Regions from separate parts of the Homo sapiens genome. Here region 1 is linked to region 2. The links are contacts of gene promoters, found by promoter capture Hi-C in human tissues and cell types (Jung and others, 2019). All regions are on one chromosome and are shown on one strand. The core of a region is centred on a gene start or on the middle of the fragment in contact, and the rest is flanking DNA. Distances in the headings are between cores, read along the strand shown.

Evidence for each region. The method cuts DNA at HindIII sites, captures the fragments that hold promoters and counts their contacts. A contact is called where the count stands out against the background at its distance.
Region 1: a fragment that was not itself captured here is called in contact with the fragment with the promoter of S100G in region 2 in 1 of the 25 tissues and cell types used here (aorta).

Annotation. Positions count from the first base shown.
Region 1 is chrX:16,609,110-16,616,416 of GRCh38, reverse strand. CTPS2 (CTP synthase 2) reads left to right here. Exons shown (of 19, transcript NM_175859.3): 17 at 6,732-6,876. Among named protein-coding and RNA genes, the nearest start is that of MIR548AM, 14 kb to the left of the region's middle. The HindIII fragment of the contact is 4,662 bases long and covers 461-5,122 here.
Region 2 is chrX:16,644,933-16,652,146 of GRCh38, reverse strand. It overlaps S100G (S100 calcium binding protein G), which reads right to left and starts at 1,989. Exons shown (of 3, transcript NM_004057.3): 1 at 1,944-1,989; 2 at 1,006-1,148. The coding sequence starts at 1,140. The region is part of intron 13 of CTPS2 (CTP synthase 2); the gene reads left to right. The HindIII fragment of the contact is 15,470 bases long and covers 1-2,810 here.

The sequences.
Region 1 (7,307 bases), core at 1,542-4,041, 37 kb after region 2:
TCTCCTGCCTTTCTCCACTGTGCTGGGTGGTCAAGCACGGGTCAGTCATTTAACTTCTGAACACTAATCACTGCCCCCAGAGTTGTTTTTAAGAGCAAACAGAACAGAAATAAAGGCATCAGAATTGAGGAAGAACACCGAAGTTGTTGTTAGTAACCAGGCTGGAACACCCGTGAGCACATAGGCACAAACTACACATTTACTATTGATGAGACAGAAGGCAGTGTTCTTCTCAGTCAGCTTTGCAAGGACATGGTAAGCTCATGGTCACAGCTGGTCTCAGCTCTTTGTCTTGATGTTCTAGCCCAGGGGTTGGCAAACTACTGCCTGTGCACCACGTCCAGCCTGCTGTTTACAGCCAGCTTATGAGCTGAGAATGATTTTTACATTTTTTAATGGTTAAAAAAATTTAAAAAAGAATACTGTCTGTGACATGTGAAAAGTGTATGCCATTCAAATTTGCATCCATAAATAAAGTTTTATTGGAACACAGTTTAGGGGTAGAAAGGTGTTATCTGTGACCTTCTTACCCATCATAAGGGTCATGACCAACAACCCTATAACAAGACAGGTTGACAAGAGAAAAGCATAACAAATTTATTTAATCAAAGTTTTATGTGACACTTTAGTCTTCAGGAATGAAGACCCAAAGACTTGGGGAAAACTTCATTTGTATGCTTAGGTTTGATGAACAGTGGACAGCCATGTAGCAATGTGATTGGGCAAAAGGGCATACTCTAATGGTAATAGACTGACAGGGAAACCCAGAAAGGCCTGTCTGCTCAGATTCTTCTTGGCCTTTCTGTGTAGCATCCCATTCCCCCAGGTCTAGAGCAGGACTCATCTGGAATGAGGGTCTTATGACCTACTTTCAGGAAAGGTAGGTCAGATAATTTATTTATAGCCAGCTTTCACATGGAAAGGCGGGGGAAACATCACAGTGACCTTCTTGCTTTGGAGGTCTTCCCAGTCACCTTCAGTTCAAACTACTTTAGGGTAGTATTTTCTGAGCTCCGACAACAGCAACACTCATTCATTTATGTCTTGTCTATGGCTGCTTTTAATTTTTATTTTTTTTGAGACAGGGTCTAGCTCTGTCACCCAGGCTGGAGTGCAGTGCCATGATCATGGCTTACTGCAGCCTTGACCTCTTGGGCACAAGTAATCCTCCCACCTCAGCCTCCCAAGGAGCTGGGACTGCAGGTGTGCATCACCCTGCCTGGCTACTTTTTTTTTTTCTTGAGATGAAGTCTTACTCTGTTGCCCAAGCTGGAGTGCAGTGGCGCGATCTTGGCTCACTGTAACCACCACCTCTCAGGTTCAAGCAATTCTCCTGCCTCACCCTCCCGAGTAGCTGGGACTACAGGCATGTTCCACCATGCCCGGCTAATTTTTGTATTTTTTAGTAGAGATGGGGTTTCACTATGTTGGCCAGGCTGGTCTTGAACTCCTGACCTCGTGATCCGCCTGCCTTGGCCTCCCAAAGTGCTGGGATTACAGGCATGAGCCACGACGCGCAGCCAATTTTAAAATTTTTTTTGTAGCGGCAGGTTTTTGCCATGTTGCTCAGGCTGGTCTCACCTGGGCTCAAGGCCTCTTCCTTCCTCAGCCTCCCAAAGTGCTGGGATTACAGGCATGAGCCACCATGCGCAGCCAATTTTTAAATTTTTTTTGTAGCGGCAGGGTTTTGCCATGTTGCTCAGGCTGGTCTCACCTGGGCTCAAGGCCTCTTCCCTCCTTAGCCTCCCAAAGTGCTGAGATTACAGGCATGAGCAACTGCACCTGGCCCATGGCTGTTTTTTATGCTACCATGGCAGAGATGAGTAGTTAAGAAAGAGACCTTATGGCTCACAAAGCCTGAAATATTTACCTTTTATAGAATATTGGCCCTTTACAGAAACATTTGCTAACTCCTGGGCTAGACTCACACATATACACTTCATTTAACTAACTTGAATTTAACATTTTCACGTGCCTCCTTGACCTGTTTGTGTATTTGGATGTTGTGTTGCCACTTCCATCTCAACTTATTTAAAACTAAATTTACATGGTCTCCCAATTAGTTCATTCTCCTGTTTCTGTTAAGATATCATCAATATCCTTGTCCAGGGTTTCTCAGCCTTGCCACTATTGATTGACATTTGGAGTGGAATAATTCTTTGTCGTGGAGGCTGTCCTGTGCACTGTATAGCAAGCTTGTCCAACCCACAGTCCGTGGGCTGCATGCAGCCCAGGGTGGATTTGAATGTGGCCCAACACAATTTCGTAAACTTTCTTAAAACATTATGAGATTTTTTTGCAATTTTTTTTTAAGCTCATCAGCTATCATTAGTGTTAGTGTATTTTATGTATGGTCCAAGACAATTCATCTTCTTCCAGTGTGGCCCAGGGAAGCCAAAAGATTGGACACCCCTGTTGTAGAGTGTTTGGCAGCATTCCTAGCCTCTACTCACTGCCACTATCATCCCTACCTCCCACGTTGTGACAACCCAAAATATCTCCAGACATCATCAAATGCCCCTGGAGAGCCAGGTGCAGTGGCTCACGCCTGTAATCCCAACGCTTTGGGAGGCGAAGGTCGGAAGATCACTTGAAGCCAGAAGTTCGAGACCAGCGTGGGCAACATAGTGAGATCCTGTCTCTACAAAAAACTAAATAATTAGCTGGGCATGGTGGTTCGTGCCTGTGGTCCCAGCTACTTAGGAGGCTGAGGTAGGAGGTTGAGCCTGGGAAGTTGAGGCTGCAGTGAGCCATGATCATGCCACTGCACTTCAGCCTGGGTGACAGAACAAGACCCTATCTTAAAAAAAAAAAGGCAAGTCCCTGGGGGGCACATTTGGTGGAGAACCATTCTCCTAGACTATCAGGCTAGAAATTTCACATATTAGCTCTTCTTCCCCTTCAGATCCCAACTAGCAGTGTGTTGTCAAGTCCTGCAGATTCTGCCTCTGGAAAGAAAGCTGGTGTTTAGAATTGCACTGCCATCCCTAGAACACTAGTCCCAGTGCATGCCAACTCCAGCTCACACTTGTCCTCAATCTCCTTCCTGCTTCCAAGCCATCCCTTCTCCAATACCTCCTAACAAGAACAGAACTCTGCAGTGTGTGACACTAATTTGTTGGATAAACCACTCTCATATATTGAGTACTAAGGGTGTGCAGGATACTGTAAAAATGGTACCGTGATGTTCCAGAACCTGCATTTCCAGCCTATATGCTTTAGGCTCCAGATAAATTGGATTGCCTGTGCGTCTTCTAACCTCCCTCTTCTTTCTCCGTCTTAGCTCATATCACTATTCTCCATTTCAAATGCCTTTTCTCTGTCTCTTTTCCTTTTTGTCTCTAATCTGTTCAAGTACTTCCAGAGTCCCGAGCAGAGGGGAGAATTGAAGTCCAAGAAGGCTCCTTTGAACGTTGTAGCATTTTACCTAGACCTGAAAGAAGGAAAGCAATGGACATTCAGTGTGCACTTACTGGATGCTTGTCACTAGACCTCTTGCTAGGGACTTTGCATACCTTATGTAACTAACAAAGCAGATGATGCTATTCCCACTTTACAGAGGACACCGGAGTGCAAAGAGGTTAAATGACATGCCCAGGGCCATCCAGCTAGTCCTTTGCAGCAAGAGCAAACCCAGTTGGTTACCTCCTTCTGCCACCACTGCTGTGGGATTTCATTGTTTCTCTTGTTTTCACGTTCTACCTAAGATGATCAATTCATGCCTAGAGTTTTGAATTAGAATAGTAAGTACGCATTTCCAGGAGTCTTTCTGATGGAAATGCCCATCATTTAGAATTAAAGTGTGGATCGCTGTTGGTATTGAAGCCTCTTAAATCTTCCTAGCATGTGAGAAGGCAGAAAATTTCTTAAGCAAATTACTATTTGTTTACTTTGTTTAAGTACTTATTCACTTTTAATTCTTCTGGTTGTCATTATTGTCATCAAATACTTAGAAGGTTCTTTCATCATAAGGATTTAGATTCCCACTGGGGCTTTCAAATTTCATGTGGATTGAAAAGGAAATGAGAGCTGCTATAAAACCTTGCAGTTTTTAAAAGCGGACTGCAAGCAGTTATTAAGGAAAATTCCCCAGAAGATTTTGATCTTAGATACCCCTTGGAAACATATCCACGAATCTCCACTGTTCCTGAAGGGTTCTGAGAGGAACAACAAAGCTTGAGATTAATATTATATAATGTCAGAATTTGGTTTAAAGCAATCAACAGCATTATTTTAAAGATAATTTTATCTAACTGATAGAACATCATCAAAATAAAAACTTTTTACTTTCTCCTCATATTGGCATAGAGGATTTTTTGGATAAAGTGATTCAGAGCAATGATCCATTCATTCACATAGTCTGTCCCTGGCTATTACATGATTACATTGCTCAGCATCTGTCTGTAGTGATACAAAAGCACAGTTACTGTCTGCTTTTTTTTCAAAGATGTCCCTAGATGTTATGCAGTAAGATTTATTGTCTCTTAAATTTTAAGCTACATTGCTTAATTTCTTCTCTAAGTGCGGATGATTTCTCTGCGTTTCTTGAGGGAATACATTCCTGGGAGAAGGTGGCATTCCCCTTATCAGGCTTTCTTACCTGCATATTCCTCTAATTCAAGGAGGTTTCTTCTTAGATGTAGAGGATTTCTACACTGGATTTTTCTGGGATCAGAGCTGTCCTATAGAACTCACTGGATTTTTCTGGGATCAGAGCTGTCCTATAGAACTCACTGCAATGATAGAACTAGTCCACCCTATCCAATATGGTAGCCACTAGCCACATGTAACTTTGAACATGTTTCAAATGCTGAATTAATGTTAATGAATTTAAGTAGCTACATATGGCTAGTGGCTACCATTTTCTATAGCAGAGCTTTTTTTTTTTTTTTTTAATAATTTCAACTTTCATTTTGGATGCAGGGAGTACATGCGCAGTTTTTTTTGTTTGTTTGTTTTTGTTTTTGAGATAGGGTCTCACCCTGTCACCCAGGCTGGAGTGCAGTGGTATTATCATGGCTCATGGCAACCTCCACCTCCTGGGCTGAAGCGATCCTCCCATCTCAGCCTCCCAAGTAGCTGGAACCACAGGTGCACGCCACCACGCCCAGCTAATTTTTGTATTTTTTGTACAGACAGGGTTTCACCATATTGCCCCGGCTGGTCTCGAGCTCCTAGGCTCAAGAAATCTGCCCACCTTGGCCTCCCAGAGTGCTGGGATTACAGGCATGAGTTACTGTGCTTGGCCCACGTGCAGATTTGTTACATGGTTATATTGTGTGATGCTAAGGTTTAGGGTATGGATCCCATCACCCAAGTACTGACTAGAGTACCCAACAGATAGTTTTTCAACTCTTGCACTCCCCTTTCCTTCCTCCCTCTGGTAGTTCCCAGTGTCTATTGTTCCCATCTTTATGTCCATAAGTACCCAATGTTTAGCTCCCATTTATAAGTGAGAACATGCAGTATTTGGTTTTCTGTTTCCGTGTTAATTCGTTTAGAATAATGGCCCCCAGCTGCATCCATGTTGCTGCAAAGGACATGGTTTCGTTTTTATGGCTGCATACTATTCCATGGTATATATGTGCCACATTTTCTTTATCCATTCCACCATTGATAGGCATCTAGTTGATTCCATGGCTTTGCTATTGTGAATACTGCTGCCATGAACATGTAAGTGCATGTGTCTTTTTTGTAGAATGATTTATTTTCCTTTGGGTATATACCCAGTAATGGGATTACTGAGTTGAATGGTAATTCTGGTTTAAGTTCTTTGAGAAATCTCCAAACTGCTTTCCACAGTGGCTGAAATAACTTACATTCCCACCAACAGTATGTTTTCTTTTCTCCACAGCCTTGCCAGCATCTGCTGTTTTTTGACTTTTTTAATAATAGCTGTTCTAGCAGGGCTTTAAATGATTACCTTAAGAAAGTAGACATTTGCATTCAATCATCATTTCCTTATTACTGTAGTAGTAGCTTTGGATCTTTGCTGGTAAGTGATGGGAATTTGTGATTTTGAATTCCATACTAGATTTTAGATCATTTGATAAAGCACCTCATTGAAAGCTTTAAAGTTATATTTACTTCCCCCTCTTAAACTTATTATATTTTATTATCTTTAGTTTGAGTCATAGCCAGGGACAGGATATTTGAATGAATGGATCATTGCTCTGAATCACTTTGTTCAAAAAATGCTCAGTTTTGTGGTGCTATGAGTAATACCCAACTTAAAGCTGTGACTAGAAAAGCAATTGTCCTCGTTGGGTTCCCAAGGGTAGCCCAATGGGTTGATATTGTGCTGGTTTATCCCAGGGGACACTTACCCTGGGAAAGGAGAAGACCTTGCAGGAAATGGCCTGAAGCCACCTAAAGAAAGAAAGACCCAGGGTTAGCCTAAAGTCCAAGGGAAATTGAACCAACATAAATCTACAAAGTGCCTTCAAAAAGCAGGCAGATTTGGGGAAAGTGGAATTCTTCTTGCCATTCAAAAATTTTTGCTTGACTTTGCTCACTCTGACACCTTCCGCACATAAAATTTCCAAGATGTGTTTTACAATTTGAAATTCCACGAAGGAATGGATGGATAGTGAAAGTAACTGGCTGTAATGATAACAGGTTAAAGAATCATCTTACCATTTAATGAGTTTTCATATTCAAAGATAAGAAGATCTTTAAAGCAGTTCTCCTGTTTGTCTGCTTTAATCGCATCGTGATTGTTCTCATTTCAGATCATCCTTATTTTGTTGGTGTCCAGTTCCATCCTGAGTTTTCTTCTAGGCCGATGAAGCCTTCCCCTCCGTATCTGGGGCTGTTACTTGCAGCAACTGGGAACCTGAATGCCTACTTGCAACAGGGTTGCAAACTGTCTTCCAGGTAACCAGCTTACTGCTCTTAGCAATAAACCAAGATGCATAGTTATTAATATCTTAGGGTTTCTTACAAAAATTAATACCACTATAGAATTTTTAAATGTGAAGAATCAGTTTTTTTCTCTTAAACATAATTTTCTTCTCTTTGTGAAAATGATTTAATCACACCTACGGTAGTAATGTGTCAGCTTTCCAAATCGTGATGACACTGGGTATTATTTTAGAAATTTTTTTCATTTTGATAAGTGAAAAGATTGTCTTTTGTTGATTCTTTGATTAATATATATGAATTTTTATATGTTTATTGGCTGTTTGTTTTATGAATAGTTTGTTCATATCTTTTCTTCATTTTGGTATTGTATTATTTTCCTTACTGATTGGTAAGCTCTTTATGTATAAAGGTCATTAATCCTTTGTTAGGCTGCAAATATTTTT
Region 2 (7,214 bases), core at 740-3,239:
TGTATCTGACTACCCTTAATATTTGATCACCTGGCCTGCCTTCAGCTAGAATCCTATCAAGGCAATTTAGCCAGAAGCTCCTTATCCTGGATATTTCCTTGGTAATTTTCCATCCACTGGCCCCCCCCATCCTGCTCTATGGTCATAAACCCCCACTTATCCTTTCTGGAGTTGAGCCCAATCTCTCTCCCCATGGCAAGAACACGTTTCAGTGGTCCCTGTATGGGTCGCCATGGCCCTCCTGGAGTAAGTTGCCTTACCATCCTTGGCAAGTGTCCTGACTCAGCTTTTTCTTTAGCAAAAGGAAAGACAGTACTGTATATTGGAGTGAGGACGATCAGCTCTTCTCTGTACTCTGTTGCCTTGAATGCATTTTGATTTTGACAACTCTGGGGTGATTTTGATGTGAAACTTTATGGCCCAGGAAATTTAGTCCTTTCTTGAAAGTTGTTTAGAAATGCACGGTTGCCTCATTAACACAAATTTAAGTGATGAACACAAATGTAAATGCTTTTGAAATATAAATGAGTGCTGACAAGGCAATTTGTCAGTGGGTTTTCCTAACAGACTGCTAAGTAAGTGTTGGTCTTGTTGAGGGATTTTACATACACAAATGAAGCCTGTCCAAGGCCAGCTAACACTATTTTGCAGTCCTCTTTGTTTTCCTAAAGCCTGGCACAGAAGTACTGAATCCATGCTGAAGGCCTTATTGGGTTTGCTTGGTGACTTGTGGGTCTTCCAGGCATAACTTGGCATTGCTTCCATTTATTATGGCTAGTCCTGCAGAGTCCTGTGCTGAGGCTGCAGGAGGGATAGAAGGCTTGGCCCTTGTTTTCTGAGAGCTTGCCTTCTGAAATGTGGCCTGACTTAAGGGGAAGAAACCCCACCTGCATGTGTCCTCCCTCAAGCGACGGTCCCTATAAGGCTCTACCGGAGTCCTCTCCCCTCCCTCCCTCCCCTCCCACCATCAGTCCCATTAAGTGGGCTCTGCGGATGGCCACTTACTTTGAGTAAACTGGGGAATTCAGCCTGAATCAATAGCTTCAGTTCATCCTTTGACAACTGGTCTGGATCACCTTCTTTGGCTGCATATTTTTCAAAAATCCTCTTCAGTTCCTCAGGAGACTTTTTAGTACTCATTCTGGTGTCTTATAAATTGGGAAGAAAATAAACTTACCAAAAAGCTGAAGTACAGTTTTGTGCTGAGGGTTGTCTGCAGGATTTTAGTGCCATTGGGCCATTTCCTTGGCATAAATGGGGAAGAATAAGGAAAAGAGAATGTCGGGGTCGGAATGGCACCAGTAACTACTAACATGTTTAAAAAATAAGCATCTTAGGCCAGGCACGGTAGCTCATGCCTGTAATCCCAGCACTTTGGGAGGCCAAGGAGGGTGGATCACTTGAAGTCAGGAGTTCGAGACCATGGAAGCCTGGCCAACATGGTGAGACCCTGTCTCTATACAAAAATTAGCCAGGCGTGGTGGTGCGTGCCTATAGTCCCATCTACTTGGAAGACCGAGGCAGGAGAATCGCTTGAACCCGGGAGGCGGAGGTTGCAGTGAGTGCGATGCCACTGCACTCCAGCCTGGGTGACAGAGCGAGCCTCCGCTGCAAAAAAAAAAAAAAAAAAAAAAAGACATCTTAGATAGTATGTTAAATGTCTGTTCTTAGAGTACATCTGTTAGGAGATGGTCCCTGGAGCCAAACATTTTTATTAGTAATTAATGACATTCTACACTTTTTATGTACCTGATCTGCACTCTGCAGGCTGTGGTCTTGAAGAATACTTGACCACAGCTTCTAGCTTCTAAGTTACAGGGAATATCTCCAGATGGCATAAACTCACCTTCTCTCCAGACCATTATCTTTCACACCATTCTAAAAGGAAGCAGAGTATTAATGCAAACAGAAGGAGCTCTAGGTAGTACCAAAATCACACTAACCTGGTTGCCCAATAGTGAAACAGCTAGAAGAATCAAAGAGGAGTTTGAAGAGCTGAGCAGAATCATGACACTTTTATAGTCTTTACGGGCACGCCACCCTGATTATGAAAATTTCCTTTTGTTGGCCATTTAAGGGTAATTATTAATGGTTTTTGAAACTCAGGCTTAAGACTGCATGAACCCCATAATTAAGGGCAAGATCCAGTAAAGGTCCATCTCGACAGTTGCTTCATGGTTCAGAGTCGTAAGCTTGGATTTTTTTCCCCCTGAGATTATATTTTCCCTCCAATGTAGAATTATATTTGCTCACAGTTCACATTTCATAAAGCTTAGATATAGAGGATTCTTTTCAATTTAGTTGCATATTTAGGCTTTAAAAAATAACTTTCTTCATATCCAGAAAAAATAAATGCTGCCCTGTGCGGTAGCTCATGCCTGTAATCCCAGCACTTTGGGAGGCCGAGGCAGGAGGATTGCTTGAGGTGAGGAGTTTGATACCAGCCTGGTCAACACAGCAAGACATTTCTACTGAAAAATTTAAAAAATCAGCCAGGTGTGATGGTACATGCCTGTAGTCCCAGCTACTGTAGAGGCTGAGGTGGGAGGATTCCTTAAGCCTGGGAGGTTGAGGCAACAGTGAGCCATGATTGTGCCACTGCACTCCAGCCTGGGTGACAGAGTGAGATCCTGTCTGTAAAAAAGAAAAAATGCTGTCATAGAAGGACAATATTACATAGTTTAAAAAATTACGGTATGGCCATTGAAGTCCTTCTGATGTCTTTACATATTAGCAGCTTAAATATTTGAATACATGAATGAATGAATGGAAGTATTGCTTCAGAAGCAGGTTTAAGAAGTGGAAAGAAGATACTCAGTAATTTGTGGTTTTATTTGGCAAATCAATATTGAGTAACATGGTCATTTTTTCAGCTCTTTCATTATTTGTTGGTCCTGTGTCTGCTTTTTATTTCTCATTATCCTTTTCCTTACCAAATATATTTCGTGATCATTCGAAAAACTTGTGAGAACACTCGACTTACTCTTGTTCAGTTGGAAATACTTCAAACTTTTTGTAACTGCCATGATTTAAAATTGCCAAGGAGATTGATTTCTACTGGAAAGAGTTCCATGAAATAAGTAGGACATTTCCAAGGGACATTGATCTAATGCTGATTGTAACTCACAGGAAGGGGTTCCAGGTGGATTTTAAGAGCACTTTACAGCTTTGAAACACTTGTACACTTCCACACTTATAGAATTTTCCCTGACTCTGCCTTATATCACCTACAAACTGAGGACTGGACTATTGGGACTGTATTTCTCCCTGATGTTTCTCAGCTCTAAAATTCTAGGGCCTTATTTACATTGGAGAACAAATGGGAAATCTAATAGAATTCCTTAAAAGCTTCCCGCCAGTCTTGAGCATTTATCATTCCATGTGTCTTTGCTGTCTTGTATATATTCTTCTTGTTTTTATTATGGATTCTTTGACTTTGCTATGCACCAATATAGAATATGTATTAACTCACTGGTTGGAGTAAAGACAGGCATTTTATTTTTAGTTATAAGATTTTACACAAAAATATTCTGATTTTGGCAATGCATTTTAATCAAGATTTTAGAAAATTGCCAGTGTTTTTACACATATGTTCTGTTTTCCTGGGAGGAAGTAGGCGTTTGTGCTTAATCATAACAAGAACTATCTTTTTTTAAACATCTTTTAAAAAATATTTCAGATCTACAGAAAAGTGGCAAGAATAGTGCAATGAACACCAGTCTGCCTTTCGACTAGATTCACTAATTGCGAACATCTCCACATTTGCTTTCTCTTTCTCTGGACAGATACTTTCCTCCACCCCTGAGTCATTTGAGAATCAATTACAAACATCCAGATGCTTCCCCCCTGAGCACCTCAGCATCTGTCTCCTAAGGACAAAGACATTCTCCTATGTAACCACAATGCCATTATCATAGCCCACGTCAAATCTCTCCAATTGTTGAATAGCATCTTAAATCATCTTTTCTCTCAAATTACCACTAGTGAGCTAAAATCAAATGGGGTGTTTATTATGTTTTGCATCTGGTTTTTTTGTTTATTTTTTTGAAGCCACTTCACTGTGTCACTCAGGTTGGAGTGCAGTGGCGTGAACACAGCTCACTGCAGCCTCAACCTCCATGGGCTCAGGTGATCCTCCTACCTCAGCCTCCCGAGTAGCTGGGACTACAGGCATGTGCCACCATGCCCGGATACATATATATATATTTTGTGTATTTCTTGTAGAAAAATACAACATGGGTTTTGCCATGTTGCCCAGGATGGTCTCCAACTCCTGGGCTCAAATGATCTGCCCGCCTCAGTCTCCCAAACTGCTGGGATTACAGGCGTGAGCCACTGCACCTGGCCTATTTTTTGCATCTGAAGAAATGATTTTAATAACTATATGTCATCTTAGTAACGATATAGGATGAAAGATAACATGTTCTATATAATACACCCATATATTACATATGACGTGTGTATGTATATATAAAAATTATCTCTAAGAAAAACTTTTGGAGCAGTATTGGTTAATAGTCTTCTAGGCTACAAATCTCTTCTTTCAAGGGACAACTTCTGATTAGAATCAGCCCAATGCGGCCGGGCACGGTGGTTCACGCCTATAATCCCAGCACTTTGGGAGGCCGAGGTGGGCGGATCACCTGAGGTCAGGAGTTCGAGACCAGCCTGACCAACATGGAGAAACCTCATCTCTACTAAAAATACAAAAATTAGCCAGGCGTGGTGGTGCATGTTTGTAATTCCAGCTACTCGGGAAACTGAGGCAGGAGAATTGCTTGAACCCGGGAGGTGGAAGTTGCGTTGAGCTGAGATCCTGCCATTACACTCCAGCCTGGGCAATAAGAGCGAAACTTTGTCTCAAAAAAAAAAAAAAAAAAAAAAAAAAAAAGAATGGGCCCAATGCTGCCTATTGTCAGAATTTATACTTGTAGCGAATGCTAGCAAAACTTGAACTTGAAAAACAGCCTGTGCGGCTTCTTAAGTTTTTACTTGCTCACTTCTACCAGTCACATCTCTTGTCTCTTATTTTTCTCTTTACCCATAGACTTAAAAGCATGAGGGTAAACTTGCACTTGGAAGCATGAAAAATCCACTAATAGATACTCTTGTGAAACATTAACTAAAAATATATGGAGACAAGTGATAATTACAGGGTGTGTTCACAAGAGTGCGTTTTGAAACCAGAGAAGGGGGGAAACGACAGGCACAAGGGTGGTAATGGGAAAATGGAGAGGCAAAGGTTATTTATCACCTCACTGTTCAATTGTTTGATCTTTGGACAGGCTTAATTTTTCCTAGGAAAGCCAAGAGTAACATATTTTAAGAGCTCTGGGCACCACAGGCTTCTGTGGGTTATTCTGCTTGAAGGTGACAGCATGCAATGTCTTGAAAAGCACCTTCAGGAAGAGGGTACAGTGTTAGTACCTGGTCCCTGCAAAACAAAATGGGTGTGAAATGCTATCCATGGGTTCTTGTTATCTTTGATCCTGAAGTTTAAAAGAGACCTTGAATACTCAAATGCTGCTTTCCCAGAAAGTATAGCTTGCTTGTCACCTGACCTGGTGTCTACCTTCCCTGGACCTTCAGACAAAGTTCACTTCCAACCTTTGCCTGGGCTGTGAGGCTCACTGTCTTTTGGGTCAGCCTGTGCTCACCTTCAGCAGTTGAGTTCCCAGAGGTCTCCTGACCATAGCCTGTGCTTCTTGAGTGCGTATCTTTACTATGGGCAGTGTGCTGACCTAGGCACCCAACTCCCACGGCCTCCTTAAATCCTTGCTGCAACTTTATGAAGTGGATGCTGTTGGTCCCCCCAGTCTGTAGAGACATCCAAGGACCTGCTCAGGGTCACACTGCTGGTCAGCAGTAGAGCTGGGATTCAAGTTCAGGCCCAGCCTGCACCCTCAACCACCGTGCCACATGCCCCTCCCAGGAGAAGGGCTTCTCTGAGGACAACCATTGTATGTTAACATTAGGACCACAGGTAGTATCACACTTAAGTGTTAGGTTTACATCTGGAGGTATAAGAAGGTTCTTTTTCTGAGGTGTAAGAAAGTTCTTTTCCTGATGAAAATGATATAGGCCTTTGTCTGTTTTGCACTGCTATAACAGAGTACCTGAGACTGGCTAATTTATAAAGAAGAGAAATTTATTTCCTCACAGTTCTGGAGGGTGGCTGGGAAGTCCCAGATCAAGGTGCTGGCATCTGGTGAGGGCCTTCTTGCTGTGTCATCATGTGGTAGAAGGCATCACATGGGTGAGAGAGAGGGAAGGGGACTGAACTCATCCTTTTACCAGGAACCCATTCCCATGATAACTAACCCATTCCAATGATAATGGCATTAATCCATTCATGGGGGCAGAGCCCTTATAACTTAATTGCTTCTTAAAGATTCCACCTCTCAACACTGTTGCACTGAGGATTAAGCTTGCAACACATCAACTTTGGGGAATGCATTCAAACCATAGCAGCTTTCTTTTACTGGTGGGGAAAAAAACAAGTTTAAAAGACTGGAAAAATACATACGTACTTATGGGACTGCTCATTGATTTCCTCATTGTAGATTCCATTCTCACACTACTTGGTGACACAGCAGCGCAGGTTGGAAGCCAGAAATGGGAAATAAACTGCTTCAGGTTAGAGGCAGGACTCTGTCAGGCAGGACTGGGCATAGTGTGTACTCGGCCTCTGAGTAGGGCACCACCCCTCCCTTCCCGTCTGCTGAAGAGACTCACCTGCAACTTGGGACATCCATGAGTATCTCAGACACCCCTCTGCTACTCTGTGGCCCACTGACCCATCCCTTAGTCTCCCCTGTTAGTTTTTAATACACTTAAAACACTGTGAGATTCCAGGCCGGGTACAGTGGCTCATGCCTGTAATCCTAGCACTTTGGGAGGCTGAGGCGTGTGGTTCACAGGGTCAGGAGATCGAGACCATCCTGGCTAACACGGTGAAACCCCGTCTCTACTAAAAATACAAAAAAAAAAAAAAAAGTTAGCCGGGCATGGTGGCGGGCGCCTGTAGTCCCAGCTACTCAGGAGGCTGAGGCAGGAGAATGGCGTGAACCCGGGAGGCGGAGCTTGCAGTGAGCCGAGATCGTGCCACTGCACTCCAGCCTGGGCGACAGAGCAAGACTCCGTCTCAAAAAAACAAAAAACAAAAAACACTGAGAGATTCCATTATTGAGTACTTGATCTGAACTTGACACTGT